Linked DNA regions of Homo sapiens: regions 1, 2, 4 and 5 are each linked to region 3. The links are contacts of gene promoters, found by promoter capture Hi-C in blood cells and fetal thymus (Javierre and others, 2016). All regions are on one chromosome and are shown on one strand. The core of a region is centred on a gene start or on the middle of the fragment in contact, and the rest is flanking DNA. Distances in the headings are between cores, read along the strand shown.

The links. Contacts are between HindIII fragments. The CHiCAGO score rates a contact against its expected background, and 5 or more counts as called.
Region 1: a fragment that was not itself captured here is called in contact with the fragment with the promoter of TCF12 in region 3 in 2 of 17 cell types (non-activated CD4 T cells and total CD4 T cells); the score reaches 7.6 in non-activated CD4 T cells.
Region 2: a contact is called between a fragment that was not itself captured here and the fragment with the promoter of TCF12 in region 3, in 1 of 17 cell types (fetal thymus). The highest score is 5.5, in fetal thymus.
Region 4: a fragment that was not itself captured here is called in contact with the fragment with the promoter of TCF12 in region 3 in 2 of 17 cell types (activated CD4 T cells and non-activated CD4 T cells); the score reaches 5.6 in activated CD4 T cells.
Region 5: a fragment that was not itself captured here is called in contact with the fragment with the promoter of TCF12 in region 3 in 1 of 17 cell types (fetal thymus); the score reaches 5.6 in fetal thymus.

Annotation. Positions count from the first base shown.
Region 1 is chr15:57,221,048-57,226,520 of GRCh38, reverse strand. The region is part of intron 8 of TCF12 (transcription factor 12); the gene reads right to left. Among named protein-coding and RNA genes, the nearest start is that of SNORD13D, 55 kb to the left of the region's middle. The HindIII fragment of the contact is 811 bases long and covers 3,506-4,316 here.
Region 2 is chr15:56,605,626-56,610,743 of GRCh38, reverse strand. No RefSeq gene overlaps it. Among named protein-coding and RNA genes, the nearest start is that of ZNF280D, 130 kb to the left of the region's middle. The HindIII fragment of the contact is 1,312 bases long and covers 1,585-2,896 here.
Region 3 is chr15:56,916,618-56,921,916 of GRCh38, reverse strand. It overlaps TCF12 (transcription factor 12), which reads right to left and starts at 3,273. Exons shown (of 21, transcript NM_207037.2): 1 at 3,011-3,273; 2 at 1,929-2,025; 3 at 819-891. The coding sequence starts at 2,003. It overlaps TCF12-DT (TCF12 divergent transcript), which reads left to right and starts at 3,418. Exons shown (of 4, transcript NR_015419.2): 1 at 3,418-4,377; 2 at 4,705-4,852. RefSeq lists silencers at 2,234-2,673, 2,724-3,013, 3,104-3,153, 3,324-3,453, 3,974-4,113. The HindIII fragment of the contact is 11,533 bases long and covers 1-5,299 here.
Region 4 is chr15:57,237,064-57,242,376 of GRCh38, reverse strand. All of the region lies in intron 12 of TCF12 (transcription factor 12), which reads right to left. Among named protein-coding and RNA genes, the nearest start is that of SNORD13D, 39 kb to the left of the region's middle. The HindIII fragment of the contact is 1,306 bases long and covers 2,554-3,859 here.
Region 5 is chr15:56,635,092-56,640,923 of GRCh38, reverse strand. ZNF280D (zinc finger protein 280D) reads left to right here. Exons shown (of 22, transcript NM_017661.4): 21 at 5,674-5,729. Among named protein-coding and RNA genes, the nearest start is that of ZNF280D, 96 kb to the left of the region's middle. The HindIII fragment of the contact is 2,125 bases long and covers 212-2,336 here.

The DNA.
Region 1 (5,473 bases), core at 2,662-5,161, 300 kb before region 3:
TTTAAGTTCCCATATGTTCAGTATCATTAAACACTTTAACACACGCTAATGTGGGCCTCAAATATGTGAAAGGTCTGTGCCAATAACAGAAATTATATTCAGCATAATTTACATCAATTTACCAAAGTAACAAAACATAACAAAATTATTTGGCTAACTTGCCCTGCCATCATAATTTTAAAATGAAAATATGATATTATATTCAGGAACATCCACTTTATCTGGTATCTTATATAATTATATTTAGTATTAAACAATAAAAACTTTACAAGATCTAGCTAAGTACCTAAAACCTTGAGAAAAAAAAAAAAAGTCTAGGTCAATGAAATATTAATAAAAGAATATCCCAACCCAGGTCAAACCCTATATTAAAAAACTGTAATTAAGACTCTAGGCCTATAATTTTAAGCATATGTACATTTAAGAGTCAGCATTCAAAAAACTAGGTAATTTTAAGATTTTTAGTGTTTAAATTATTAATTTAATTTAAATTGATTAATCTGGGGGGAGGGGGGAGGGATAGCATTAGGAGATATACCTAATGTTAAATGACAAGTTAATGGGTGCAGCACACCAAACATGGCACATGTATACATATGTAACTAACCTGCACATTGTGCACATGTACCCTAAAACTTAAAGTATAATAAAAGAAAAAAAAAATGAATAAATAAATAAATTGATTAATCTACGCAAGTTCCACACGTAGCAATATATACAACCCATGTCTCTTTCTCAATTTTATGGGATTGGAATTTAGTAAAAAGAGGCTCTTTTAAGAAGAGTAAATAAAATTTTGCTTTAATAACTATACCCATTTGTATTAGAGTGCTAGGAAGATATCAGAGAAAATTAAAGACATTTCCTAAAAACCATTTCCTATATATTTTTCTGATCATTTTCAGATCATTCTGATCTGTTATTTTGTATTAATACTGATCTTATATACATCCTCAGATAAAAAGCATATATCCTTGGCTGGGCGCAGTGGCTCACGCCTGTAATCCCAGCACTTTGGGAGGCCGAGGCGGGTGGATCATGAGGTCAGGAGGTCGAGACCATCCTGGATAACACAGTGAAACCCCATCTCTACTAAAAATAATAATAAAAAAAATTAGCCGGGCATGGTGGCGGGCGCCTGTAGTCTCAGCTAGTCAGGAGGCTGAGGCAGGAGAATGATGTGAACCTGGGAGGCGGAGCTTGCAGTGAGCTGAGATCACACCATTGCCACTGCACTCCAGTCTGGGCGACAGTGCAAGACTCCGTCTTAAAAAAAAAAAAAAAAAAAAAAAAAAAAAAAGCATATATCAGTAACCTAAATGGTAACATTTAAAAATTTCTGAAACTTAGGCCTTCTCACTTTCCTTGTTCCTTCGGTAATCAAAATTTAAACAACGTAATCCCAAAGAAAATAACCTAAAAATCTAGATAAATATTAAAATGATAGTCTAATTCAATAATTCCCTAATATCTAAGAATATTTCAACAAATGACAGATTTGATAAATATCTCAATGCTTTCAGTATTTTCATATTACATAAAATGGCAAATTCTGCCATAAACTCCAATCTGCTACTAGAGTTTTTAATGGTAATTTCAAGCCTGAGGGGGAAAATATTTAGATAGTTCCAGTAAAAATACCACAAGAACTGAAACCACAGGTATTATAAAGCAAAACGTCTGAAGTACAAAGACTGACTCAGGCACATACAAGCCATCTCCACGGAAGATTCTTTTTACCTAATTAGCCTGTTAAAAATACAACTTGAAATTCTGTAAAAGGGATAAATATGTGTTTATATTTTCAGCAGTTTCCTAAGTAAAAGGACCAATATCTCTTTCCAAAAACTTCCAGAGACATGTTTATTTTCCAGGGAAAATAAAATGAAATTTCTTTTCTAACAACAGTAAGAAAAATGAATTCTAGTTTTCATACAAAGCATTTTAAAACCAACTGCTGCTCTTACTGTGTAACAAACACAGGTGAACATTACTGGTTTTCAACTGTGAGAAAAATTCCTTCTAAGCCCATTTAAATTAATCTTAAATTAACATTACTGGGCATATCACTGGTTTTCTAGGAAAATCAAGCACATTTTAGTTAATCTTAAATTAACATCACTGGGCATATTACTGATTTTCTACGATAAGTGCTATCATTTTTCTAATAATCTCAATGTTTTTCTTCAATTATGGAATTTCTAAGGGACAGGGTTTGAAACTTGTTTGCTAGGATAATATACTGAACAAATCAATGACTGACACGTTACCTACCTACTTTAAAAAAAATTTAGATTCAACAATATTGCACCTGATCCCCTTTGATATACAAGTGGAAAGGAACACAAATTTCTCTCAAAAACATTCATAAAGTTGACCAGTGACAACATACCTTCTAGTATGTAAAACTAGCAGGAGCTAGTTTTAACTCACTAGTATTTGTACTCACTTGAATCAAGATAAGAAAACTTTCTTGGGCTCACACACCATAGTCGCAGATATTTTTGGTAAAGGGGAAAAATGTGAAGTAGGTTTATGCTGAAGTCCTTGTCATTCAATGTCTTTAGCATTCTATATTAAGAGATTTTAAAAATGACTTCATGTTTTCCCTATTATAAAAAATGTTAGATTTAACTCTTTTGGGCCCATGGACAGTCTGGAAATGTGAATTAATTTAATTGTATATTCTTCTCTCATGTTAACTAGCAATAAATACCCCAATAGAACAGAAATGCAGCTGTATACAGTCACATCGGTTTCTGTTCTTTTATTAACTGAAAATGTTTGTTTTAAAAATAAGTCTTATAAGTATTTACAATGTAATTTTACTTACTTGCTACTCTATTTCTAAAAAAAAAAAAAAAAAAAAAAAAAAAACCTCATTGGTAGGCAGGTGCCAAAACCATGGCTAAACCAATTTTCAGTATGATTAATTCTATTAGAAGAGGAGACTTGCTAAAACGTATCTGAAAGTTTTAATTTTAAATTCTTAAACAAAAGTTGACAAAAATTTGCTTGACTAACCACATCAATTAGTATTCATGAAATTGTTACTCTGACCACACATGCAAAAGATTTGTAAGAGTGGCCTTGTGCTTTTCCCAGTTACGTTTTCTTTCCAATGTAGTATATATATGTATTTTTACATATCCAAATACACATTGGATCCAATGTAGTATATTTTAATGTAAATGGGTAGTCAGGATAAATTCAGTTTGGCCCTTTGCTATGGAGACTAATTTACATGTCCTTGGATGATACAAAGGAGAAAATGTGCTTTTGGGGGACAGATAGACCTGGGTTCAAATTCTGACCTCAGTACTTACAAAATAGGTGAGGTTGAACCTCATTTTCCTTATTTATAAAATGAGCTAGTAACAGCTAAATGACAGTGGTTGTGAAAATTAAATCAGATAAACAAAGTTCCCAGCACAGTTCCTCCCACAGAATAGCCCTTACAATCAAATTAGTTTCTTTTTTTTCCCAGATTCCATTCAAAGAAGCTTAATATTCAAAATGTGCGTCTAGCTTGAATTTTAAAACTTGGATTTCTGTGTTGTTTCTCAGAAGATTAAAATAATTTCCTCATACAATGAAAAGGCCATCATGTCTGTTTGTGTGGCAATTTTTATACCTGGAATACTCTGTAGCATCTTTAGTCCCAAAACTAAGAAAAATGGAGACTGGTCAGAAAAATGGAGTAAGGCACTCCAGAATCTTAAAAGTAAAAAAAAAAAAAAAAAAAAAAAAAAAAAAAAAAAATGGCAGTCCTTTTTTTCCCCCAAAACTTTTCTTTCCTTTGCTCTCAAGACTTTTTTCTCACTTTCTGTGTAAAGGACAAAATTTACTCAAATTAATGAGAAAACTGAATGCAGGCAGAGTTCTTTATAAAGAAGGAACCTCAGAAACCCACTGTTCTCTACTATTTTTTATATTTCAAAACAGTATAAGGTGCAAAATAGTTTTAGTTTTCATACTTACTATAAACCCACATTAATACCTTACAACATGATAAAGAATACAGCTACACAAAAATTACATATAATACAAAACATTAACCCCTTCTCTTTTTAAGCAGTAGGAAAAACTGCATTAACATTTTTGGCTTTTCTTTTCTACACCTACATGCCCAAGTCTGTTACATATCCAAGAATAAAATACTGGCCATACAATTTTAGGTAATAAAATATAAAAAAGTTCTTTGGTCTCTTCCTAGAGTTTGTTCAGTTTTATTAAAAGATCTGAAATACCCTTAAATATATGCAATCAACTCGAAAACTAAAAAAAAAAAAACTGGAAAAAAGGGAAAGAAAGCTTTCTGTTTAAGAGCAGGACCACTTAGGGTTTGTCACTCTCTCATAAAACCTGAAATGGGATGTTAAAAATGAATCAATGTGAACTTATTATTAGTATTTCAAAATATTATTTTGTTCTATCATTTTAAAATAAATCTATAAAATGAGATTAAATAGTTTAAATTTAACCTGTTCATGACAAGAAGTATATTAAACTTCTATAACTTAAGTGAAGACATATATTTCACTTAAGAGTCTAGAAATGTTAATGAAAGTGCTAGTTTTTATTTTAAGGCATTGACAAGCAGACATTTCCCAATATACACTAAAATAATACATTTATATAATCTTGAGACAATGTAATTACATACCACGATTTTCTTATTGAAGAAAACTGAAGTCATCACAAAATAATAATGTTGCCAATGACTTCTAATAACTACTAGAGAATAATTTTAAAAACTAGAGGTGGGTAAAAATAAAATACATACAAGTCTAGGGTCTTATGATTTGGAGGACTAAGCCAACATATCATCTCTTTATTTATATATTTTTCCAGAACATAAAAGTCACCTTTGACCTATATTAGGCACAGACTATCAATTTTTCCAGGCTCTCTACCATACCAGCTATGCCATCTACCATAAGCCTGGAAATACCACTATCAAAGCTCCCCCTACCCCCCTCCCAATGTAGAACAAAGAGAAATGTAATACAGTAACCTGTGCTTTCCAAAGAATAAAATCTAAACTCATTTTGAGTTAGTCTGGTTCAGGGTCCTACATAATTAATTTTACTGAACTTATACACGTGCACACACACACACACACACACACACACACCCCACACACATACCCACATACCATGTTCAGACTGTTTTACTTAAAATCAGACACAAAAGAAAATTATTTTCACATTTGAAAGACAGCTGGCAAGAAAATTATATAGAGATTAAATAATTTCACTCATCCATCTAAATCTACTTCTTACATTATCCAAAGCTCTGCTTATATGGGCAGCTTGAACATACACTTTTTAATGAGTTTAAAGATATTTTGACTTGCTTATCTTTTTTGAAAGCTTACCCAAAAGTTCACAACCAAACACTGGCCCAGTCCAAAGAGCCCTTACTAAAGCAATCAGTGAATGAAAAAGTGCTTTTATTAGTTCTTAGTATC
Region 2 (5,118 bases), core at 991-3,490, 310 kb after region 3:
TCTTTGTCTTTAGTTTTCAGCAATTTGATTATGGTGTTATCAAAGTCAAATAAAATGATAGAGATGAAACTCTAAAGAAAATGTTTTATTTGGAAAAACGGAATTACCATTCAGGGCATGTACACAGACCAGGGTGGTCTTTGGTATCTTCAAAGAGCAGAGAAAAGGTTGGGGGTTTTATTAGAGAAATGTTATGTATTGTTTTGTAAGAAAACTCATTGGCATTAGGAAAGTTTTTGGGAGCTCATAAGCTCTGATTGGTGAGTAATGATGGGTAGGTAAAACTAGGCTTAAAGTCATGGCAGTTCATCTTAGCAGCTACTAGGTAAAAATAGTCTTAAGGTTGTAGCAGATCATTTTGGCAGTTGGCTTAGGAGACAGTCCCTGGGCAGGCACTTGTGCCCTGAGTGCTTTTCTTTTCTTTTCTTCCCCTGGTCTCCTGACTCTAATTTAATTGGGCATGATAACTCCAATTCATATAATCAATTCTCACAGTGTTTGGTTGTGGATTTGTTTGGGATTTTTCCTGTTTGAGATTCACTGAACTTCTTGAATCTGTAAGTTTATATCTTCTGCAAAATATGGGAGGAGTTTTTTGCTGTTATTTATCCTCCCCCTTTTTATTGTGGTAAAATATACAGAAAATAAAATTTACCACTTTGACATTTCTAGTGTATAATTCAGTGGCATTTAGTATATAAACAATGTTTTATGCAACCATCACCACTATTTTGAGAAATTTTTCATCATCCCAAACAGAAACTCTCTACCCATTGAGCGATAACTCCCCATTCCCCCTGCCCCTAGTACCTAGTAATTTCAATTCTATTAATCCTTTCTGTCTTTATGACTTTGTGTATTCTAGATACCTTATAAAATATGTGTTTGTCTTCACGTCTGAATTATTTCACTTAGCATAAGTTTTTCAACTTCATGTTGTAGCATGTATCAGAATTCATTCTTTTTTTGTGGTTGAGTGATATTCCATCGTACATATATATCAAATTTTGTGCATTCTGTTTGTCCATCTTTTGATGGACACTTTAGTTGTTTCCACCTGTTGGCTATTGGGAATAATGGTGCCAGGAATATTTGTGTACAAGTATCTGTTTGAGCCCCAGTTTTCCATTCTTTGGGGTATATATTGAGCAGTGGAATTATTGAGTCATATGGTAATTCTATATTTAACATTTTGAGGAGCTGCCAAACTTCCCATAGTGGCTGCACCATTTTAACTTCCCACCAGCAATTTACAAGGGTTCCGTCTTGGGTGCGCGATGACTGTCTGGGCTGGTGGCACAGAGGTAAAAGAATTTACCAAGATAGTTGTAGGTAAAGAAAGGCAGATTGGTTAAAGAAAGTATAAAAGTACGTTGCCAGGGAGCTATAGGTGGAATCAGCAGAAGAGTAGCTGACTGCAAGGAAACAAGGAAATAAGAACAAGAATGCTTCTTATGCTGAAGAGTGCTACAGGCAATACTGATAATGCTAAGGTTGCAGTGAGCTAACTTGCAGGTGTCTGATGATAGTTGGACCCAGGAGGGCAATGTGTAGTGGACCATGAAGAAAGGCAGACTTGAAGCTTATCTGCTTTCTCTTTTTGCTTTGCCTTGGTGTCCAGCCAGCCTGACTCCTTTTCCCTAATTATGAATCCACAGGTTCCAATTCCCACATCCTTGCCAACACATGTTAATTTCAGGAATTCTGGGAGTAGCCATTCTAGTGGATGTGAAATGATATTAGACATTATTCCTTTCTCCTCTTTGTCAGTCTCTGATAACACAAACATTAGACCTTTGGTACTGTCCCACAGGCTCCTTAGGTTCTTTACTTTTTTAAGAAATATTTTCTTTATTTTCGGATCAGGTAATTTCTATTAACCTATCTTCGAATTCACTGACTCATTTTTTTGTCATCTCCATTCTGCTATTAAGACTATCTAGTGAGATTTTTTTAAAAAAATTTAGTGATTACATATTTTTTTCAGTTCCCAAATTATCATTTGGTTCTTTATGTCTTCAGTTTCTTTGCTGAGACTTTATATCTTTTTATTCATTTTAAGAGTGTATGTCCTTACTTCCTGGAGCACCTTTATACTAATAATAGCTGCTTTAGCATTTTGGTCAGATAATTCTAACACCTGTGTCAAATCAGCATTGGTGTGTGTTGATCATCTTTTTCTCATGTGAGCTCAGATTCGCCTAGTTCTTCATATACTAAGTAGTTTTGGAATGTATCCTGGAAATTTCAAATATAATGTTAAGGGACTCTGGGTTTATTTAAATCCTATGGAGAATGTTGATATATTTGTTTTAGTAGGCAATTGACCTTATTGGGTTCTGGCTGCAAATTCCAACCAGCTTCTGTGGGTTGTGGTTTCAATGTCAGTTTCATTTTCAAAGCCTTCAGTTTTATTCAAATTTGTCACACATGTATGCTGCTCAGTGGCCATTCTGAAACCTGGCATGTGGTTTATCTCTTAGTTTAGTTCAGTCTTTGGTATGTTGGTTTATGATCAGAACCACACATGCATCCCTCAGAAGTGATACCAGAAATTCATAAACAACATTATCTGGTAATTTTCCAAAGATCCTCCCTTTAGGTATTTTCCCCAGTAACTTCCAGTCCCTTAAGCCTCTTTTTTGATCTTCCATCTGTAATACTGTGGCTTTATTTACCCCCCATCCTGCCCTACATTTTTCATGTCTGCACTCATATCCAGGGATAAGTGGAGGGAAGTTAGAATTTAAAAAGAAATGGTGTTCACCTCACTCTCTTGAGACTATAGCACCTCTGGAAAGTAACCCTCTCCCTCTCAGAATTTTGGTGCTCCTGTAGCTATCGGGAGATCTCTATCTTCTTCTTTGATCCTGAGTAGAAGGCTTCTCTGGAAGCTTTCTCTAGCTATACCAATACCTATCTCCACATTATAGATTGCCTTAAATCCACACTGAGAAATACTAAAGGGGGGTGAAAAGGGTCTATTCACTACCAGTTAGGTCTACTCCACTTCAAATTTCGTTGTTCTTTAGTCTTCATACTATTATCTTGTATTCACAGTCCTTCCACATTGTTATATGCATTCTGTCCAGGTTTTGTAGCCGCATTCAGTGGGAGAGTCAAAGTGGAGTGTGCTTACTCCACCTTACCCGGAACTGCAACTCTTAAAATAATTTTATAATTAACATCAATAGTAAGGGAGACTATGCATAAAACAAATAAACAAAACCTAACAAATTTGACATGTAAGCACTCTCACTGCCAGGCCAACATGTTGTTTAAAACTGTCCATAGAAATTGAATCTAAGTAGAGAAATTTCAGGTAGAAGCAAACTTTATAATTCCACCAAACCAAGAGCAAGTCAAGAATGCCTTCTATGATACTCTGGCTTCTTATTTTTAGGATGCAGAAAAGCTGCTCTGGCTAGCTTAAGAAAAATAGTTGCTCTGGCTAGTTTAAGAAAAATAACTTACTAATCAAGTATTATAAGAAGACACAAATACCTAAATCAGAAATGAAAGTGGGGACACAACTATTGACCTTTCAGAAGTAAAAAGGATTATAAGAGAATACTCTAAACAATTGTATGCCCAAAAAAAGATAACCTTGATGGCATGGACACATTTCTAGCAACAAATTACCAAAACCGACTCAAGAAGAAATAGAAAATCTGAATAGAGGTATAACAAGTAAAGAGAGTGAAACATTAACCAAAAACTTCCCAATGAAGGTAAGTCCAGGGTCAGATGGCTTCATCAGTGAATTATACCAAACATTTAAAGAAGAATTAGCACCAATCCTCAATTTTCCAAAAAGTAGAAGAGAACACTTACTAACTTGTTTTTGATGCCAGCGTTACCCTGATACCAAAATCAGATAAAGACCTCACAAGAAAAGGAAGTCACAGAGCAATATCCCTAAGTAATATAGATGTAAAAATTCTCAACAAAATATTAGCGAGCCAAATCCAACAACATATTAAAAGATTATATACCATGACCAAATAGGATTTATCCCAGGAATCCAAGGGTGTTTTGACATGAGAAAATAAGTGTAATATACCATATTAATGGAATGTAAAAACGCCACATGATCATCTCAGTTGATGCAGAAAAAATACTTGACAAAATCCAACACTTTTTCATGATAAAAACTTAGAAAACTCACTTTGGGAGGCTGAGGCGGGCAGATCACGTGTTCAGGAGATTGAGACCATCCTGGCTAACACGGTGAAACCCCTTCTCTACTAAAAATACAAAAAATTAGCCAGGCGTGGTGGCAGGCACCTGTAGTCCCAGCTACTCTGCAGGCTGAGGCAGGAGAATGGTGTAAACCCGGGAGGCAGAGCTTGCAGTGAGCCAAGAACGTGCCACTGCACTCCAAGAAAACTAGGAATGAGAGGGAACTTCCTCAACATGAGAAAGGGCAATTATGAAAAACTCGTAGCAGAAATCATACTCAGTGGTGCAAGACTAAAATCCTTTTCCCCAAGATCAGGAACAAGACAAACATGCCTGCTTTCACCACAGCTATTTGACATTGTATTGGAAGTTTTAGCCAAAACAGATAGATGGATGGATGGATAGATAGATAGATAGATAGATAGATAGATAGATAGATAGATAGATGAAAGATAAAATGGCATCCAGATTAAAAAGGAAAAAGTAAAACTATTCACAGATGATATGATCTTATATGTAGAAAATCCCAAATAATCCACAAGAAAGCTACTAGAGCTAATAAATTCCGTAATTTGTAAGATACAAGATCAACGTGCAAAAATCATTTGAGTTTCTGTATACCACCAATGAATAACCCAAAAAGGAAACCAAGAAAATAATTGATATGGTTTGGCTCTGTGTGCCCACCCAAATCTCATGTTGAATTGTAATGCCAAATGTTGGAGGTGGGGCCTGGTGGGAGGTGTTTGGATCATGGGGATGGTTTCTAATGGTTTAGCATCATTCCCGCAGTGCTGTCTCATGATAGAGTTCTCACAAGATCTGATTGTTTAAAAGTGTGTAGCACCTCCATCTGCTTGTGCTCTTCTTCCTGTTCCAGGCATGTAGGATGTTCGTCCTTCCCCTTCACCTTCCACCACCATTGTAAGTTTCCTG
Region 3 (5,299 bases), core at 2,024-4,523:
AATTTTAATAAATTAGTATACAATTTTTAAAAACAAACTTTTTAGAATGTAAAGTGGTATAAAGTGTTTAGGTGGTTATGAAATTAACCTTATTTTCTGATGTTTTATTCTCACAGTATTTTAAGAAACCAACTATCATTTTACCAGGGGAAATAAAAAGCACCCATCAAAGAGGCATTACTGAGTTTCAGCCCAGAGATTTGACAGTTGGTTTTCTTAAGATGATGCTGTCATGGCTTTAGTTATTTTTTTCATCTCTTAAGCACAAAGAAATAAATTTAAATTAAATAAAAAGTTACAGCTTTTGCACACTGGAATGGACCTTCCTTCTAAAATATTTTTAAATTATGAGTTTTTAAAAGTTAAAAAAAGAAAAAATGCATACTTAAGAAAAATGGGATGTTTTAAAATGGAGCACAGTAGTCATAAATGTATTGAAAGTAAATTTAAAGACAAGATCACTAGTGTGTAGATCTACTTTAACTTACTCTAAACATTATCATAATGTAATCTGGATATAGGAAAGGATTCAGTCATCTAATACTTATCATTTAAAAATAAATCTAAGTTTCTATTCATTTTGAAAATTTACCCCACTAACATTTTAAATAATTGTAAACGAAACTACTGATTTCCTACAGATTTCTGAGGGAACTGTCATCTTTTAAAATTAATAAATCTTACTAATTATCACTTGACTCAATTCCATCTTTTATATACATATATTCAATAATATTTAAATGTTATGCTTTCTATTTTTCTACTAAAATGTATCACACCACCAAAATATGAGTCTTTAGTTTAAGACATCATCTTACCTGATCCACTGAATTGACTGCTTCCCAGTGTAGTTGGTCTAGTTTTCCCACTATTAACAGGTGGGGAAAACATCTGCAAAATAACCCAAATATATCTGTTAGTCCTGAAATTCTTCTAGATTCCTTGCAAACAAAAGTCCACCAAAAGTCATCCATCAGTTATTAAATTTCAGAGGGAAGTTAAAATAAAATTGGAGATACATTCAGATCCAGAGAGGCAAATACACTGAATGATACTATTTCCTAATTAATTGGAAATAATGGTTACATTTTGTTCTGAAGACCCGATCATTTACATGGAAGAGTCCAAGATTATTAAGTTTAAACAGTATAGTATTACACATGATCTTTACTGCAGAACTAAGTGAATTTCATTACATTTACATTATATCTCAATATACACAGTCAGAATTATGGCCCATTAAATTACTACATACAGTAAGGATTATAACTGAATTGTATAAAGCAGGTATAGGTGCTGCCTCCTAACAGCAGTTAATAAAGGAATTAAACCCATTAAAAATAAAAGCAGTGGGCCCTTAGGTTTCAGTTGATGTTTTTAAGTCATTTCCCATGTTAAGAACATAATACACACACACACACACACACACGTGTGTGTGTGTATAAAATAAAAGTACTCTGTTTCAGAAGGCTCGAAATTCTAGCTCTGGACTACTTTTCTTGTCGCTGACATCTTTCAGGTACCATAAACTACATCTGATACTGGAGAGGAAAATGGTGAGGAGTACTGAAGAAAAAAACAACACTTTTTCATATAAAGTACAAGATCCCCAATAATCATCGCGGTGGGAGGGTGACTCAACCAAAGGTCATAATTACATTGTTCTCCTTTTAACTGGTTAAATCAAATGACCCCTCTGGCATTAAAGTTTTAAATGTGCAAGTCTAGACATTACATCAAAGTTCAGGTGTCCAACTTGGGGGAGCTGGACTCCAGCCCTGAGAACTACTGCTTAAGCAGAAAGCAGATGGAGTTCACGCTGCCTAGTCTCCACGTTGCTTCCCCTCACCCTTTATTTAAAAGAAACAAACAAACAAACAAACAAAAACCTCAGCAGAACCCCAAGATGCCATGGAAAGCTCTCATACCGCACTGAAGTCCAGTAGGTCGCTCAGCTCCTTGTCGGTCCCTATAGCGGCCATGCGTTGTTGCTGGGGATTCATCTTCGGCCACTTCTAGCAGGTCCTAGGGCAGAGGAAACGGGCTCAGCGAGAGACCACCGAGGCCCAAAGTGTGTGAGGGAACAGAGAGAGGTACTGGGGAAGATTACGCAAGAGCGCTGGGGGCGCCGGGATGACTTCCAGGACCCCGACTCGCTCCCACCGCGGCGCGAGCAAGGGGCGGGAGGGCTCAGTGCCCGCGCCGGGTCCCGGAATCCACGCGTTCCTCGCCGCGGCCCGAGATCGACGCGGCGGCTCCCGCAACTCGCCGCCTCTCCCCCAAGTTTCCGAGCCAGTCTCTGCCACCTCCTCGGCGCCCCCTGCTCCGCGCCGCCGCCGGGTGCTCCGCGCGCCGGGCCCGGCCGCGGCTGGGGTCTCGAGGAGCGGGGTGAGGGGCAATTCGGCGTCCAGCGAGCGGAGCGGCGGCGAGCGGAGATGCGAAGTGACTCACTCGCTCGGCAACAATAGAACTGACAAGTTGCAGGGAACGCGCCGCTCGCAGGCCCGCGTCTGCGGCCGCCGCCGCCCGGACGTCCCCGGCGGGCCCAGGAGGTCGGAAAGCACCCCCAGCTCATCCAAGGGGCGTTTTTAAACAGAAAACAGAAACCCCGACAACTAGTCTCGCTCTCGGCCGGCGTCCTCCTCCCCAGGCTCGGCCTCCTCCCACTTTTGCTGCCCTGCCCCGGACCTGCCGAACAATGAGCCTGGCTCCGCGGCCGAAGCCGCCCGATCTCCCGCGCGCCCCGGAGCCTGGGCGCCGGCCCGAGTCGGGCACCGAACGGGGCGCACAGGCCGAGCGCGCCGCCAGCGGGCCTGAGCGCCCGCGACTCGAGCCTCCGCCCCCACTCCGCTCCCCAACTTGGAGGGGACCCCGGGTTTCGCGCTGTACAAAGGGGCGCGGAGTTGAGGCGGGGGACGGGGGCGCCCCCACTCCGGCAGGGACGCGGCGGCGCCCCGCAGCCCCCAGCCCCGCCGCGCCGCCCCACTCCCGCTCGCTAGCCCGCAATTACCTGCCGCCCCGTCTCCGCATCCAACCACCCCGATTAAAGTTCACTTTGGCCGGGAGAACGGGCTTGGGCTTCCCCTTGCACCGCCCAGCGGCTCGGTTCACTTTGCCCCGCACGAGCTCTCGGGTCTGGGAGGGGGAGGCGGCTTTCGGGCCTGGCCGCCCCTTCCTCCCGGGGCGGGCTGTCGGTCCCCCCGAATAGAACTTGTGGGTCTCTTCAGGCGGACATTTTTTTCGCTGAGGCGGCCTCACCACCGCGCTCGGCTCGCCTCCGGATCCCTCCGCGCCGGGAAGAGCCGCGGGTTAACCCTTCCCTCCCCGACCCGCTCCGCCGCCTAGGAAGTGGGGCCGGCAGAGGGGGCGGGGAGGAGCTGTCGGGGACTGGGAGGAGCCGCACCGCGGCGGGTGGACAAAGCCCGCGGTCGGGTGAGGCGGGACGGAGTTGGGGCCGGTGGGGAGGGGCATGAGGCGCTCGCAGGCACCTCGAGAAGCAGGCCCCGACCGCTCGCCGACGAAGCCTCGTCCGGGCCTCCTGGGAGCGGGGTGGCAGGTACCGTGGCGCCTCCTCGCGTTGGTCTTGCTGGTTCTCGGCCCCCGAAGCGGAGCGACGGAGACACAGCTGTGGAAGCATCTGGATCCGCTGCCCAGGTCCCCGAGCTTCCCGGAACCCGAGGCCGCAGGACACTGAAGGCTGCCATTCCCGAGTAGGTCACGCTGGACGCCACCCTAAGCTGGGCCCAGAGGCTCCCGTCCAGGAGGGCTGCAGTCGGCGCAGACACCGCGCGTGTGGAGACGGGAGACCCATCCTCCTCGGCCGTTCCGAGAGTAGGCGCGGCCGGTCAGATTCGATGCAGAGCCGAATGCGGGAGAAAGGGCAAAACGTACCTCAAACCAGACAAAGCCTTGTGAGCTTCAGGTTCTCAAATACCCCACTCACCCAGACCCCACATCTCCAGTCAGCCCCTCGCACCCAAATCCCATTCGGAGCAACCGAACTGCACGTGGGACTAGTTCTTGGGAATGGATCAAGCCAGTCTCTTCATCTAACGGAGACAGCCCTGGGTGGCTCTGTCACACAGCCACTGTCTTGTGCACAAGTTCTGAACTTGGCCTCAGAGAAGCCCCAGAGTAGAAAGAAGACAAAATAAGCCCCAGTTCTTCGATTCTGGGCTGAAGTGAGATTTTCTTGAATGGCAGCCATTGTTTTGCCTCTTAGGTAAGTGAGTGCAGTAAAGACCGGTAAGGCCCACGCAGAAGAAACACTGAGGAAAGAAGACACTTCCAAAGTAACAAATGGGAGGAAGCAGCCAACGCCCGAGGACAACATGGCAAGAAGGAGCCTTTGGATTCCGGACTGGGATGGAAAGAGAGGTAGATTCAGCTACCATATGCCATTACTGTAGTTAGTACAGTTGTCTCTATATCCGTGGGATTGGTTCCCAGACTCTGGATTTTCTAAGATGTTCAAGTCTCTTACATAAAAATGGTGTGTTTCCCCATATACTTTAAATCATATCTAGATTACTTATAAAACCTAATACAATGCAAATGCTATGTGAATAGTTGTTAAGGTGTATTTAGGAAATAATCATCCAAAGAAATCTCTATATTTTCAGTACATTTTCAGGCTATATTTTAGGCTCTATATTTTCATGTATTTTCAGGCCTGGTAAGCCTAACTACATTTTTTGTTTTCAGTTGATTGAATCCCGGAATTTGGAAACCCCAGATACGGAGGGCGGACGGTACAACCGGAGCTGTCAGGTGGATTTCCAAGGCTTTGCATTGGCTGTACCTGAAACTTATGGTGGCCTAGACTCCCCAGTATCCACTCTTCCTTATCTTGGTAAACAAGCCCAGTTCTGAGTCACATCCCTGCTCTGCCTACTTACAGGGGCATGTGGTCCCAATCTAAGCAACGTAGCATAATTCCAACCTAAATCAGCAGAATCCCATTCCCTGCCACAGTTATTGGCTGGCAATGAGCGTAACATATTTGGGCCAATGAGAGGAGCAATTTCCTGGTCTTTGTTGGGAAAAGTTTTTCTTTCATTTTCTGAGAGCGCTTCAGAGGTAACCCATTCTTTCTGCATGTCCTCAAAAAAACGGGTCCCCTGGATGGTGGGTAGCCATCTTCCAAATACAAGTCTAGCCGGGTTAAAATAAAGAAGACATCAAGAAAACAAACATGCATAGAGATCTGATCTTTGGTGACTTTTTTTTTTTTTTTTTTTGAGATGTAGTCTGGCTCTGTCACCAGGCTGGAGTGTGGTGGCAGGATCTCGGCTCACTG
Region 4 (5,313 bases), core at 1,957-4,456, 320 kb before region 3:
ATCCAGGCACCAAAGGCCCATCCCTAAGATCTCTTCTTGGACAATCCTATTCTTTTAATATGCATAATAATCATTTTCGTATCTCAGCACTCAGGGCAGACAAACCAACTTATATGGATAAATTGTGGTCAAATATTTTAAAAAGGAAAACTACTTGTGAGTGCAAAAAGTCATCCAGTAGAAATGACCTTGCTTTGAATAAACTTAAGAGCTCTAATGAATTTAAAGAGACCCAATTTACAGCATACAAGGAATTTCAACATTGTTTTTAAAGAAAGCATAAAAATGTTCTTTCAAGATTTGACAAAGCCAGATTATTGGGACAGGTTCATATACAACAAAACTATACAAGTCACAATTTACGAATTTCATTTTTTTTTTCCCTGAGATGGAGTCTTACTCTGTTACCCAGGCTGGAGTGCAGTGACATGATCTTGGCTCACTGCAACCTCCACCTACAAGGTTCAAGTGATTTTCCCCGCTCAGCCTCCCAGTAGTTAGCACTACAGCCGCGTGCCACCAAGCCTGGCTAATTTTTGTATTTTTAGTAGAGAAAAGATTTCGCTATGTTGGACAGGCTGGTCTTGAACTCCTGACCTCAGATGACCCTCCCACCTTGGCCTCCCAAAGTGCTGGGATTACAGGTGTGAGCCACCACGGCCCACCAGATTTCATTTTTTAAAAAGGTAACAGGCTTTCAAATTGTAAGCAGCCCAAAGTCTACCTTCCTTTGACTACAAATGGATATATGCACTTCAAACAAAATACGCCAATTTGTATGACATTAGTAACTTATAATTGTAAATGCCTTTATACATCAACTATCTCAAACAGTCAGGATCTAGACACTGTATACTCTATTTTCAGGATCTAGACACTGTATACTCTATTTAAAAAGCTATTTTGGAAAAGTAAAGCTATGGAAAAGAGTTCAAAACACTTTGGGAGGATCTAGTAACAGAGAGGTAGTATAAGATCAATAATAGGCCGGGTGCGGTAGCTCACGCCTATAATCCCAGCACTTTGGGAGGCCGAGGCAGGTGGATCACCTGAGGTCAGGAGTTCGAGACCAGCCTGGCCAACATGCTGAAACCCCGTCTCTACTAGACATACAAAAATTAGTCGGGCGTGGTGGGCGACTGTAATCCCAGCTACTCGCGGGGTCTGAGGCAGGAGAATCGCTTGAATCTGGGAGGTGGAGGTTTCAGTGAGCCGAGATCGAGCCACTGCACTCCAGCTTGGGTGACAGAGTAAGACAGTGTATGAAAAAAAAAAAATCAATATTATTGGTTTTTAAGTTGTTACCTTTTAAAACATTCATTGGACACATGGGAAAATTAGCTTGGGAAAGTACATTTTTGTTCTTAGTGGCTTTGCACACATACATTGATTTATTTCAACCACATAAGTAAATTAGGGAAGGTCATCAAACTTCAACAGAAACAAAACATGTTTCAACATACCTTTTCCCTTTCTTTTTTTTTTTTTTTTTTTTTTGAGACAGGGTCTTGCTCTGTCACCCAGGCTGGAATGCAGTGGTGCAATCATGGCTCACTGCAGCCTCAACTTCCTGGGCTCAAGCAATCCTTCCACCTTGACTTCCCAAGGAGCTGGGACTACAAGCCCTCACCACCACACCCAACATTTTTGTATTTTTTGTAGAGATGGGGTTCCGCTATGTTGCCCAGGCTGGTCTTGAACTCCTAGGCTGAAGTGATCTGCCTGCTTTGGCCTCCCAAAGTGCTGGGATTACAGGCGTGAGCCATTGAACCCGGCCCTCAACATACCTCTTTACCACTGAAAACCACCATTTCTTATGTTCATAATTCAAATAATTATACCATTTATGAGCAATTGATGCTCATCTTTATGAAATATGTCTTGACTACAATATTGGCAAGGGAGGGAAAGGCTGATAACACTGATGGTGGATGGATGAGTGAGAAATCGTCAGTTCTATGCAAAACTGTCAACTAGCCCAACTCATGAAGCAGCATTTTCTGTTACATACTCCTTCTTTCGTATTCTTCATAGTGCTTACACTGTATTTCTAATCATCTACATTTGTCTGTTACCTGTTTTTTTATCCTTTCCCATGGTAAAATATAAGCCCCAGAAGAATGAGGAATTTGTCTTATTAATGTAGCCTCAGATTCCACAACAGTGCAGATAAATGGTGAGGGTTCAATGTACAGATATACAGTTGTCATTAAGAATGAAAAGCATAATCCTTGCCAGGAATTTCCATTTAAGTGATTCTTTTCAGTCTTTGTATTTGATAAAGTCCCTAGGGTCCATCTCTATTTTACTCTTCCATTTCCCTTAATGTAGGTTTCCCCAGAGTTCTAGTCTCAGTATTCTTTCATTTCCCTGTGCTTTATCTCTTGGTAATAGTATTCTTTGTCAAATATCAACTATCACATCCAGGTATGACTCCTAAATTGGTATCTCTCTTGTCACACTGGTTGCTAGACTTTTCTATCTGGACAGGATCTCTTTTCATCTCAAGCGCAGTTATGTCCAAACCCAAATTTTTTATCACCACCCCAAGCTTCCCATCCTTCCCATCTCTACTCTTCTATTTAGGTTAGTAGCACCATGCTTATGGTTACCATAAGTACTCTCTCCTCTTTTCCTCTGCCACTCTACCCTTCCCTCTGGAGACACCGATATCCACAATTCTCTAATGTTTCTGGGACAGGCACATGTCATAATCACTGCCATGACACCACTTTAAATCTTTACTCAAACTTGCGGCTGGACTACTTAAGTGTTTATATTTCTAGTTACTCCCCTCTCTTTCCATCCTATACATAATTGCCCTGAACTACTGTCCTCAAAAACTTTTTTTTTTTTTTTTTGAGATGGAGTCTTGCTCTGTTGCCCAGGCTGAAGTGCAGTGGCACGATCTCGGCTCACTGCAACCAGGTTTAAGTGATTCTACTGCCTCAGCCTCCCAAGCAGCTGGGATTACATAGGCGTGTACCACCATACCCGGCTAATTTTTCTTCCTCTTTGTTTTTTTGAGATGGACTTTCGCTCTTGTTGCCTAGGCTGGAGTGCAGTGGTGCAATCTCAGCTCACCACAACCTCTGCTTCCTGGGTTCAAGCGATTCTCCTGCCCCAGCCTCCCGACTAGCTGGGATTACAGGCATGCACCACCATGCCAGGCTAATTTTGTATTTTTAGTAGAGACGGGGTTTCTCCGTGTTGGTCAGGCTGGTCTCGAACTCCCGACCCAGGTGATCCCACTGCCTCAGCCTCCTAAAGTGCTGGGATTACAGGCGTGGTGTTGCCTAGCCCTTATAGTCTACTTTTAACCTACATACCCTATTATGCAAACAAAATATTTTTTTCATTTTCTAAACACAGCTTGTCCTCCTTTCAGAACGCTTGTTTCTTAACCTCTCCCAGATGGAATTCTACTTATCAAAGCTCAGTTCCAATGTCACTTCCCCATTTATACATTTTCACCTTCCTTATACTCTTAGAAAATAGTCTGAACTTCTCTCTGCTCTTTTACTTCACACTGTGTTATACATTATCATTATTTGTATATCTGTCTTCTCTCCTTGACTACAAGCTCTTTGAAGACAGGAAACTTATACTGGTCAACATTGAATCCATTATTGTATGCCAGTATCTTGTAAAAGTAGGTGCCCAATATATATATTTTTAACTTGAGTGATTAAACTACAATTGAAATTTGCTATAATACTAACTGATAAAAAGCAGGACTCAATAAATGGTAGTATTTATCTTGGTATTTATACAATGTGGGTCAGCAACAGAAATACCAAGGGCAAAAGAGCTTGTTATAAATATGACTTAATTTCAAATCAGTTTTATGGCATAAGCTTTGAGAATAATCATATGGTGAGGTTTCACTATTTCTGGGAATTAGTGTTGATGTACTAAGCTGTCCATATCACACTGTTAGGTAGGCATGGGCTTTTGAGGGTAGAAATGGACTACCAATCCCGATTTTCCCTGAAAACTCTGTCCTTACACTTAAACAATCCCTAACCATGTCAACAACTGGTGAAAGCTCCTTTATATCAAGGAAGGAAGAGGTAATAGTTTAGAGTCATATAAGAGCACTATCTTTAAATGACTTGGTGAAATGCCCCAATGCTATATGTAAAACTGGTGTAAACTTAAAAAAAAAAATCACTGTCTAAACGGGAGAAACAGCACCAAAAACATATCAAGTATAAAAATATATCATTTCTGGTATTTTTTCCAAAAGCAGCTTCTCCATTTGTACAATAAAAGCCAATTTTTCCACTCATCCATCACAGTCACTGGTTCTACTTTGCCAGTTAAAGTGATGACAGACAGAATTGTTATCAATACTTTTCCTAAATTTACAGATAGCCCTGTAAGTTACAGGACTTTTTAAAAAATCACTTTTACTTTCATAAAAAGAATGTGTATGGTGGGAGAGGAGGAGCAATACAACATTTGAAAAGCATGATAACACAGCCTTTTGGATCACAGGTCATTTCACTAAGCTTTATCTCTGAGTGTTTATTTTATTACCAAATCGCAAACAAATCATACTTATTCTATAAAAATTGTGCTACTTTAACTTCTAAACACAGGCTTTATTTGGCTTTATTCTAAATCAGGAATATGTTTCTTTTCATACTTTCTGGACTTAAAAGAACTCCTACATTGATGTTTGAAGGTAAGAATAAAAAGAAGAACAAAATCAGTTACTTAAAAAAATGGGGGTAAAGAGTGATTTAGAGTCTAGAGCATAAACAAAGTAAGCACTCATTCTGCATGCAGTCCATGGTCCTCATACTGTTAAATGACCAATAATGAATAACTCCCAATGCCTTCTGCCAGGCTTAAACGGTAATATGCCTCATTTTACTCCAACAAATGAGACTCCTCCTCCTATCAGTCATGGTCTATTCCAATCAGCAGGGTGCCAATAAGCCAGAGGCTAATGAAAAGGGCTTTAGACAAAAAAGAAACAATGGACTGCTCCCAAGCCCAACCCCGGAACTGTGAGCCCAATTTTTTAAACACTACAGTGCACATTTCAGTTAATCTTTATTATGCTAATGTTATTGAGTCTAAGGAACAAAGAAAGTTATTTCATGAATTACTTTTAAACATCAACTTCCCTGAATTTTCTTTTCTTTTGTTAGAGACTACTGACCATTTATCCAGATTAATACACACATACATATACACACACACACACACACACACACTCTCTCTCTCTCTTTTTCCCTTGCTCTGAGGTAGAAATCAAAACATAAATTATCACAAAGAAGTCTGATATAATCAACAAAGTTA
Region 5 (5,832 bases), core at 25-2,524, 280 kb after region 3:
CTTAAATATTCTGACGATTTAAATTCTATAGAAATTCTATATGAAATAGTTTAAAGCAGCATTTGATATCAATAACATACAATCAAGTTTGTGTTTGGGTCTTCTAAACCTTCTTAACATATTTTGCTTAGTGCAGTCTTAAACAGATTTGGAAATGGTATTCAAAAATTTTAAACAATTCCAGCCACAGTGGAATCCTGCAAATGAAGCTTACTGTAAACTGAAGTTAATATAACATTTTTTTATGATTGTCACTTGTTCAAGAGAAATTGTACATGACAGTTTGCTCATTTGAAAACAAAATAAGAAAAGAATTAGATTTGAAAATGTACTGTTGATGCATTTGCTTCCATTAGCCAGGAGAATAAAATAATACTGTTTTTGGCATAAATAAAATCTTTAAGTTTAAGCTAATGTGAGTTTAATTCTCCTACTTTTAAATTTTTCAATATTTTTCTGACTAACATTCTAGAAAAAAAATTTTTTAAATACACAGAAACAGGCTGGGCACAATGGCACACACCTGTAATCCCATCACTTTGGAGACAGAGCTGGGAGGATTGCTTAAGTCTAGGAGTTAGAGACCAGCCTGGGAAACAAAGTGAGACCCTGTTGCTAAAAACAAAAAACAAAACAAAAACACACCACACACAAAGCAAAACTTATAGGGGCATTCATTTTTTCTTTTGCCTCAGGCTTCAATATGGCTTGGTATAGCACTGATTGCAGAATAGTTACATCAAAATTTTTGAGACTGTTATGCTGAGCCAGAAAGTACCCCATGATTTCTTTTCCTTTTCTGTACCTTATGTTATTTTTCTGGAGTTAAAAATATGTATCTTTTTTACTCGTTTGTTTAGTTTTCTGTGCACCTAATGCTGTATTTTTTTCTAACGTTGCAATTTCTCTCTCAAATATTTGGAAATAGTTTTTCCAGTGTTCACACACATAAAAAAAAAATCGCTGGGGAGTGAAGGGGTCTGAAGATCTCCTCCCAGACTCCCCGCCTCAACTTAAACTAGTTGCTCCCTAAGCCTGTGCTTAGTTTTGTTATGTCAAGATTATCCTTTGCCACTCCCTTGTATTGGATGTCCTGTTTGCTGAACCATGAATTATTCCTCATTTCTTGGCTTACTCATCATTTTGATGAATTGTGTCCTCTACTAGCTTCCTGAGAAGGTGTGCATCTTTTTTCAGTTTTTGCATATCTAAAAATATATTTATGCGAATGATAGTTTGGCTGAAGTACATAAAAATAATTCCCATGCAGTTTTTAAAATGTTGTTTTTACTATCTTCTTATATCCAGTATTTGTATTAAGTCTGATGCATGTCTTGCTCCAGTTTCTTGGTATTTAGGTTACTTTTTTTCTTTTTGGAAACTTTAGTGATTATCTCTGTCACTGGTGTTTTGAAATCGCATGATATGTTCACCCATCCTTTTTTCATTCATTGTATTAGGCATCTGACAAACCTTTGGAGTTTGGAGATTTCTGTTTGGGAGAAGTTTTCTTGTTTCATTTCTGTGGTAAATGCTCACTTTTATTTTCTGTGTTCTCCTTTTTTTAAGAAACTCCTATTGTTCTGACATTGTTCTGACACTGAGCCTCCTGCATCAACTCCTTTTTTTTTTTTAGCTCATTTAATTGTATGTTATTTTCTTTCTGGCCTTTCATCTTTTTGTTTTTTTGTTTCAATCTTTTTAAATAATTTTCTAAACTTAATTACTTATTTTAGTTGCCATATTTGTAATTTTGAAGAGCTCTGTAACTTTTTATTTGTTCTTTAATTCTCTTTTTTACAGTTTTTGTTACTGTTTAATGGATATAATAACATATACCTCTTTGGAGATATTAAATATTGTATATATACTTTTTTCTTTTGTTCCCAGCAATGTATCTGATGTCTCCAAGCCCCTTTCTTTATTCCTTTTTGTTTTTTTTGGTATTTTTCATGTTAAGGTATGTCTTTTGTTATGTGGTGATCCTTACCCGCCCATACATAATTAAAGAATGAGGCTAAAATAATCATTGAAAACCGTATGTGTTTGAATGGAGACAGGGCTGTCTTGCATAGCCATTCAGGTTGAACACTGCAGAACTCCTGCGGATACTATTTAAATATATCCTTTGTAGTCTCAAAAATTACTAATGTTTACCATATTAGAAATTGAAATAATGATATTTTAAAACTATTGTCAAAAATAAAAATAATAAATATATGTTAACATAAATCACATTTTTTTTCTGAAAAATAACTATTTTCCAAAGCAACAGAAATTTAGTGAGAAAGAATGGCTTGATTTTACACTTTTGCATATTTCTTTAATGTCAAGCTTAGTAGAAAAAAATTGGATTCTCATGTTTCTGAATCCAATCTGTTGTGATACATTCTTTTGGTTGAAATGTATGAAGAATACCCAGCCTCACCCAGTACTTCAATAATCTTTTCCAATAATTGTGATTATTCTCCTTTGATACTGCACCAAAAGTGGAAGTTTTCTTGCTTGTTGCACTGTGGAATCTAGCTCCGTATCACTGACTTTTTTTGCTTTGTTACATCAAAATCTGTTTGTCTGTTTTATATTTTGAATGGATCTTTTATCCATGCCTAATTTTGTAATATCATGCATTGGTCATTTGGAACTTATTGGCCCCTTAAGTGCCCTGGATCTTCCAAATGTTGAAATATTTCATTATATAATATCAAGCACTCACAGTAAATATTAGCATTAATCTAATCAGTGGTGGGTAGGAGTTTTTGCTTGATTTTATTACTGGAAACGAATACTGTCAGTTGTTTTCCTTGATATGACAGGCTCACTTTGTTAATTTTTCAAAAAGAAAAAGTCTACTGAAACTCTAGTCTAGATATTCATAGTTTGACAGTCATTCTTTAAAATAAAAATGATCCTGTTCTATGAAAAAAATGTGGTTAAGTACAACTCACAACTCAATCACAGACCCAAATATTTTCAGTAGGCAATGGTTGTGACTTATGCATACTTTCTTTGCATTTTGTCACACAAAATATTAAAAAGATATGAGCTCAAAGATTGAGATTTAATAAAGTTTTTTTTTTTAACTTGTCTCGGTGTGGTGTGAAGAATACAATGTGTATGGTGGTGAAGAATACAATGACTACTAGTACAGGTTGCTACTGCCTTGATTTATATTAATTTGCCACCATTTTTACACACTTCTGTTTTTATGCCAAGAGTTGTGACTTCAGATGCCTCCTGAAAGTGGCTTGGATTCTCCAGGTGTCCATATGTCATACTTTGGAAACGGATGATATGAATTACAATGTGTTGCCCTCTGGATTTGTGCACTGTACTGTGTGCACAATCTGCATGAAAATTGCGTAGACTTCAGTGTGGGAAAATTAGGTGCTGAACTGACTGATTCTTTGTTGAGGAGGATGGTCTCAACATCATTATGGAGAGGCCAGGTGTGGTGGCTCATGCCTGTAATCCCAACACTTTGGGAAGCTAATGCAGGAGGATCCCTTGAGGCTGGGAGTTTGAGACCAGCCTGGGCAACACTGGAGACTTCGTCTCTACAAAAAAAAAAAATGTTTTTAACTAGCCAGTCATGTTGAGCACATACTGTGTAGTCCTAGCTACTCAGGAGACTGAGGTGAGAGGATTGCTTGAGCTTAGGAGTTCGAGGTTGCAGTTGAGCTATGATCATGCCACTACGTTCCAGCCTTGGTGACAGAGTGAGATCTTGTCTCTTAAAAAAAAAAAAAAAAAATTCATTCTGGAAAATTTTTTCTTTGGGGTTGATCATTTTCTCCAGAGAGAAATCTAGCTTCTAGCTGAGAGTGCTAGGTTGGGGAGTGAGTTCTCTGGCTGTTGGCATTCTGGAAGCCAGGCAGGGAGAAGGATTGTTAAGTACGTGGACTTTTACTAAAACTTTGTTTTCTCAGTATCTCATGCCTGCCTTTTACTTTTCCTGGTGTTCATAAGTCTAGACTATCTCCACTTCAGAAAGTTAACTTTTAGGCTGGGCACGGTGGCTCACTCCTGTAATCCCAGCACTTTGGGAGGCCGAGGTGGGTGGATCATTTGAGGTCAGGAATTCACAACCAGGCTGACAAACATAGTGAAACCCCATCTCTACTAAAAATAAAAAAAATTAGTTGGGCATGGTGGAACATGCCTGTAATCCCAGCACTTTGGGAGGCCGAGGTGGGTGGATCACCTGAGGTCAGGAGTCTGAGACCAGCCTGGCTAACATGGTGAAACCCCGTCTGTACTAAAAATACAAAAATTAGTCGGGCATGGTGGTGGGTACCTGTAATCCCAGCTACTCAGGGGGCTGAGACAGGAGAATCGCTTGAACCTGAGAGGTGGAGGTTGTAGTGAGCTGAGATCATACCACTGCACTCCATCCTAGGTGACAGAGCTAGACTCTGTCAAAAAAAAAAAAAAAAAATAGGAAGGAAGGAAGTTAAGTTTTAGCCTCTTTGGTAAGGGAAGGGATAGGTGCCTGTTGTGTAAGTTGCGGGGAAGGAGCATTTAGATTTCCCAGCAATGCTTTGTTTTTACTTTTTATGTACTAAATAGTAGACTGACCACCTGCAAATACCAGGTGTTTTTGGTTCTCTGGGCAAATTGATCTCTTTTCCTTGCACTCCTCCACTGCAGACATTCATTGTAACTTCCTCCATACTGCTAAATCAGTAACCACTCTTCCAATGACTTTCCTGTTTCTAAACATTTGGTGAAATCTGTTTAGCAATTAGTATACTTTGGTGTTTTCTTCATCTTTATGAGTAAAAATATTTTATTTCTTTGCCCTTGTTTTAGCAGAGTTTTGAGACGGTGAGTAGATAAGTGTGTGTGATTAATACACCATTATCAATTTTACAGGCTTGAGTCGATCTACCATAGTGGTTAAGAGGTAGATATAGATTTGAATCTTTACTACTTATTGTGGTATTGCCTTGGGTTCCCACTCAAGTCTTATTTCTCATATATTGAAATAGTGTTTATAAAATCTAATATGTAGATTAAATGAGATAGTGCATGTAAAGTTCTTAATATACTGCTTCATGCATCATATGTACTCCATAGCTGGTAATTGTTACAAGCTGTTAGGTTGGCCTATGGCTTACTGAGGTTTTACACTTTTCTTGCTTCCCTGTAAAACATTTGAAATAAGTAGAATGTTTCTTACTTTGTGTACTGTTTCATGTTTTTGGTTTGACAGTGGAAGGGTTACCATGACTCAATATGAAATCATAAATTCAGAAATGTTTTATCTAAATACCTGTGCCTAATATATTTATATAAAATACTGTGGATGCATCTTGTTATTCAAATTCAAGTTGTGTTTTACTAGTTTTCTATTTAAGTAATTGTAATTATGATCCACATTTGAAATAGAGGTTACGAAAAGCAGATATTGACATGAGTGGGTAACTGCTTTTTTACCTTGAATCAGAAACTTTTGGTACACTGAAACTTTTATAGGTTTAAAAACATTTTCAAAACCTGCATATAATTATGGAGTATTCTAATTATATTTTATATTTAATAAATTATTTTTCTATTTCTTTGTTATATTAAGTTGCACACTTGTTTCTTTTATCCAGAAAGTTTAGTATAATAAAAATAGTTTTAAGATTAACTGTGAATGTAAAAGAAAAGTATTATTAATTATTTCAGGAAATTGCAAGACCTAACATGGCTGAAAGAGAAACAGAAACATCAAATTCTGAAAGGTAAATATAAGGAAAAACTGAATTTCATAAAATTCAAGTATACAAAATAACACTTGAGCTGCATTATTTCACAGTTAACTGGCAAAGGACTATTTAAATGTTT